Linked DNA regions of Homo sapiens: region 1 is linked to region 2. The links are contacts of gene promoters, found by promoter capture Hi-C in human tissues and cell types (Jung and others, 2019). All regions are on one chromosome and are shown on one strand. The core of a region is centred on a gene start or on the middle of the fragment in contact, and the rest is flanking DNA. Distances in the headings are between cores, read along the strand shown.

Region 1 (2,700 bases), core at 37-2,536, 200 kb before region 2:
CAGCTTGGCAGAACATTGCTTCGTTCAGCCTCACAGCAGACCCTACGAGGGAGGCATCATGGGCCCATTTTATAGACAAGGAAACTGAGGCCATGCAAAGGAATTGCTTGCCCAGGGTCACACTGCAATTAAGCAGAGAAGCCAGCATTCCATCCAACACCTGCCAATTAAGGGGGTCACAGTCCCCAGGAGAAATAAACTGCCTAAGAATGACAGGTGACACCGACACTGACTGACAAGGCTACCTTGGCACTTTATGGGTGTTTGGGGACCCTCACAAGAGCCTTACCAAGTAGGTACTGATATGAACCCACTTAATAGAGGGGAAAACCAAGGCCCCAAGCAAGTCCCCTGTCCACAGCCATTCAGCCAGCAAATAGCAGAACTGGGATTAGAACCAACAGGCAGGGCCCAGAGCCCACGCTCCTGACCTCCACACCAGGTGGCAAGCACATGACGCAGGCCATAAGCAGGAGGAAGAGGCAAGGAGGTCATCAGACACAAGGAGGTCACCTGAGGCAAAGACACGTGCAGCCTGGAGATGCTGCCTGGGCGACAGGTGGGATCACATTGAAGAGGAGAGAAAGAGAACAACTTTCTTCAAGGTGCAGCATGAGGGGCCGGGCACGGTGGCTCACGCCTGTAATCCCAGCACATTGGGAGGCCAAGGCGGGAGGAGTGCTTGAACAGGATTTCAAGACCAGCCTGGGCAACACAGTGAGACCTCGTCTTTACCAAAAATATTAAAACTCCCTGGGCGTGGTGGCGTGCACCTGTAGTCCCAGCTACTGGGGAGGCTGAGATGCGAGGCTCACTTGAGCCCAGGAAGGATAATGCTGCAGTGAAAAGTGATGGCGCCACTGCACTCCAGCCTGGGTGACACAGCAAGATTCTGTCTCAAAAAAATAAAAAAAGATGCAACGTGCAACATCAAAGGTGCTCCGTAAGAGCTACCAAAAGACAAATCACTGGCCCTTGATCTAGCAATCCCACTTCCAGGAGTCTATCCCACAGGCGTACTCATTTCCCTGTAACATGTGCGGACGTATGCCTTCCCATGCTTCACACAGAAACCTTTGGAAACACCTCCACGTCCATAACAGTAAAGGAGGATTCACCCACACAGAGGAATACCATGCAGCCAAGAAAAAGATAGAGGAAGACCTACATTGGTAGGGTCTCCCAGGGAGATGAAGCGTGGAAAAAAAGCAATGCATAGACCAGACTACCATCTGTGTAAGATGAATAGTTTTTTGTTTGTCTGTTTGTTTGTTTTAGACAGAGTCTCGCTGTGTCGCCCAGGCTGGAGTGGAGTGCAGTGCTACCGCAATCTCGGCTCACCGCAACCTCCGCCTCCTGCATTCAAGCAATTCCCCTGCCTCAGGCTCCTGAGTAGCTGGGATTACAGCCATGCACCACCATGCCCAGCTCATTTTTGTATTTTTAGGAGAGATGGGGTTTCACCATGTTGGCCAGGCTGGTCTTGAACTCCTGACCGCAGGTGATCTGCCCACTTCAGCCTCCCAAAGTGCTGGGATTACAGGCGTGAGCCACCATGCCCGGCCTGAATAGTTTTAAACACATAACATCCATATATAAAAGTACATGCACAGAACATCAGAATGGAGGTGCTGTCTCTGGGGAAGAGAGCTAGGGGACCAGGGATTCTGGAGAGGTTAGAGGGAGAGACACCATCTTTAGTGTTCTGAATTTGCCCCGTGTGTGTATCACTTAGAACAAAAGGAACAAAAGGCAGACAGAGAAAAAGATGATGTCTCAGACCACCCAGACAGAATGAATGAAACCCCACAGCGGCTAATCCAACCGTTCTCTCTCCTCCTCCTGGACTGTGTCCCAAGGTCTTAACTGATCCCCAGGGCCCTGTCACACAGTAGGCCCTCAGGAAGTTTAATTGGGAACAATTAAAGAAACAAAGGCCTTCTCTGCTTGTGCCAACACTCCTTTCCCCCTCCCCCCAATGAATACATACACTCATACACAAAACTAATTGTCACCAAACTAGAAATGCCTTAGAAAACTCTCCCTCTCCACTGGGGAAACTTGCGTGTCACTGAGACACAAAAGCTTCAGTCAACTGGGACAAAACTCTACTGGTGGTACTCCAGGCAGAGGAGAATGCGAGGGACGGAACCAGGAGACACTCCCTGGGGACCCCTCAACCAAACGCTCCCCATGCGTCTCTAGTGTGGCATAAGGTGCATCCTACCAGGGAGCTAGCTCAGACAAGACAGGGGACAAAAAACCAGAGGGATATGAAGGGGTGAGTAAGGAGGGGGCAATTCTTCTGCTGGGGGAGCAGGCAGCAGTTGTCATCGTGGACACGGCACGGGTGACTGCTCTTGTTTCTACTAAGTGAGGGTGCCTGGTCGGGGAAGAAAGCTCAAATATGACCAGGGCAAGATAACCATACTCCCCACCCCTCTCCCCTGCAGGGCGGGAGAAGGGAAATGGCAGCCCCTCTGCCTTCCAAGCCCAGGCGGCCTGGAAAGGAATGCCATGTTTTCCTGTTTCCAATTAACTTCCCCTACCAGCAGCCTTCTGCATTCTTGAGACCTGGAGTCAAGGCAGCCTGGCGGGTGGGGGTTGAGAGCTGGCGGGGGAACTGGGCTGCTGGCTAGACCTGGGCTACAAGGTGGCCCACGGGAACCTGGGGAGCCTTATACACCCCCAGGAACTCCC
Region 2 (2,700 bases), core at 24-2,523:
TCCGTCCCCCGCCGGCATCCTCCATCCTCCCCCAATCAATTTCTCTCCCACACACTTATTTCTCCCTTCCCAACAGCTCGTCTCTTTCTTTAATTAGAAAGATTTATGCTTCAGAGTCCAAGCCCCCTGCTCTTGTTTTGGGGGTGGCAGGGACGACTCCAGGGTCTCTATTGGAGCTCCTGTCCCCCACTCCCTCCCCCTCCTGTCTGTCTCACTCTGTCTGCACCTCTCTCTCTCTCTCCTCCCACCCGCGTCTGTCTCTGTCTCTCTCTCTCTCTGAATCACACCGTCACTGGAGTTACCTCCCTCCCCACTCCAGTTAGGCCCCATCCCCATCCCAGGTGCCCCCTCCCTCCCTTCCTGCTCTGTCCACGCCCCCCACCACTGGCCGTCAGATGAGGCCGCACTTGCTCCTCTAGGTTTCAGAATCAGCCTGGGCTAAGGGGACCTTAGCATGCACCACCCCCCAAAAAAGCAAATAGAGCCAGAGACTCCTAACCCTTGCATCCCTCACCCCAAGTCTTGGCTGAGGGTGAGGTGGGGGTGGAGCAGACCAAAGGGCCTTGTGTCTTTAATTAAAAAGTGATTTAAATTAATTTTCTGCTCCAAAACCCCTATCTGGGGTGCGCCGGCCTTGAGGAAAGGCAAGGCCTCCAGACCCTTCCCCTCGGACTGCCTTAAACGGCCAGCCTCACCGCAGGACAGCCACGGGGGCAGAGCCCGCCGGCATGGGGACCCCCAGACTCAGCCAAGACCCTGAGTCCTGGCACCCTCTAGCTTAACTGTTTCTCCGTTATCCACAGCCCACCCCCGCCGCCCCCAGCGCACTGCCCATCCTGCAGAGGGGGAATCGAGCCTCAGAGAGGGGAGAGCCTACGGTGGGACCAGACTCCAGATTCCCACGTGACCCCTGGAGATGGCCAGGGAGGGGGTCCGTGGTGTGTCCAGGGGGCTCGGAGAACAGAGAGCCAGAGGAGAGAAAGGACGGGAGAAGCGGAGACAGAGAGAGACAAGGAGAGAGAGACTGGGAAAGAGGGAGACTGAGAAACCCGGAGCAGGAACCCCAGCCCTGGGTAGGAGAGGAGGGGCCTGGGGGCACCAGGGCCGCGGTCTCTTCCTCTCCTCCCCCCACAGCCTGCCCCTCCCCGACTCCCACCGGAAGTGCTGCTGCTGCCCTAACCCCAATCCCTCGTGCTGTAGCTCTGCAGGCTCACTCTGGCTCATCCCCTATCCCGCTCCTTGGTGGTTCTGTTTAATTTCCACAAGACAAGGGAGAGACCGGGAACGGGGAGCGCGGCTGCCAGCACCCCTGAGCCGCCGCCGGACCCTCCGTCGCCCCGGGCCGCCCCCCGCCCCCTGCGGTCCCCGGTGTGTCCGTCTCGGGACGGTTCGATTCCCTCCAGAGCCGGGGAAGGGACGGGGGGGGCCCAGAGGAGGGGGCCTCGGGCGCCCCGCCTGCGCCTGCTGCCCCCGCCCCGGCGGCGATGCGCTCCTGGCCGTGACCCCCGCTGGGGGCGGGGGCCGGGGTCCATGCGCGGAGTCCCCACCCGGCCCGGCGCCTGCCGCTGACGGCGGCGGGGGTGGGGGGGCGCGCGCCTGGCCTCCTGCCCACCCCCTGGCGTCAACACCGCGGGCCGTCAGGGGCTGCGGCCCCGGGCTGCGCCCTCCCCCGCGGCCAGGCTCTGGAGGGACCCAGGAGCTGCCGCCGGCCTCAGCCCATGGCCCGGAGGGTAGGTCTCGGGGCGGGGACCCCGCGTCCCGGCCGCTTCCGCACCCCCTGTCCCTGCATCCCCCACTCTCCGGCGCTGGCCCCCATTAGCCCATCCGTCCTCTACACCACCTCGCTCTCTCTCTGCCCCTCCCTCCGCCCCTGGGTCTCCCAGTCCCTGTGTGCCCCCTCTCTGCCCCCAAGTGTCTCTTCCTGGCCCTCGGCCTCGCCTCCTCCCCATCGTTTAGCTTCTCCTTCTCCCTGCCCCTCTGTCCCCCTCTGTCTGCCCCACTCTCCTCCTCCTTTCTGCCTCTCTGTCCCCCTCTCTCTGTCCCTGGTCTCCCCCCTCTTTCTGCCTCTCTATCCCCCTCTCTCTGCCCTCCCCCACCCGCAGTCTCTCTCCTCTGTTCCTGGGCTTCCTCCTCCATCTCAGCCGCCCGCACCTCACCGTCCCCCCTTTTTTCTGCTCTCCTCCGTCCTTCCCTTCGCTCTACTTTTGTTCCAAGCCGCCCCTGCCTCTCCAGGGCTAGGAGTGGGACAGGGGTGGGAGAGGTGGTCTCACCAGGCTGCTGGCCCCACGGAGCCTGTCTCCCTGGGGATGGGAACGGGGATAGAAGACAGGGGAGGAGGCGCGCGCCCGTTTTGGGGGTTCCGGGTAGGCTGTGAGGACCGCTTTTGGTGAGAGTGCCTTGAGCAGCGGGGAGCAGTTGGATTCAACTTCAGGGCACAGGAGAAGTTAGGAGAAGAGGGAGAGGGAAAGAGTGGGACACACAGAACCAGGGTGCCCAGCCAGGCGAGGGTCCGAGGCAGGAACGTTCTAGCCTCTTCCCGTGCGAGTCCTGCTGCCTCTTTGAGCCTCCGTGTCTTCATCACTGAGGAAGGGATTTGACCTGATGAGAGGAAGGTGCCCCTGGCTTCCCAGGTGCATGGTTCTGTGACGACAGGACGCGGTCGTCCTACCCCATAATGGTGTTTCTCTTGGGTGCGCAATC

What was found. The method cuts DNA at HindIII sites, captures the fragments that hold promoters and counts their contacts. A contact is called where the count stands out against the background at its distance.
Region 1: a contact is called between a fragment that was not itself captured here and the fragment with the promoter of MEIS3 in region 2, in 2 of the 25 tissues and cell types used here (IMR-90 fibroblasts and neural progenitor cells).

The regions. Positions count from the first base shown.
Region 1 is chr19:47,613,200-47,615,899 of GRCh38, reverse strand. The region is part of intron 1 of BICRA (BRD4 interacting chromatin remodeling complex associated protein); the gene reads right to left. Among named protein-coding and RNA genes, the nearest start is that of BICRA, 5.4 kb to the right of the region's middle. RefSeq lists enhancers at 1-803, 2,466-2,700. The HindIII fragment of the contact is 4,325 bases long and covers 1-2,700 here.
Region 2 is chr19:47,418,100-47,420,799 of GRCh38, reverse strand. MEIS3 (Meis homeobox 3) reads left to right here and starts at 1,273. Exons shown (of 13, transcript NM_001301059.2): 1 at 1,273-1,730. The coding sequence starts at 1,719. RefSeq lists enhancers at 1,193-2,186, 2,187-2,700. The HindIII fragment of the contact is 42,961 bases long and covers 1-2,700 here.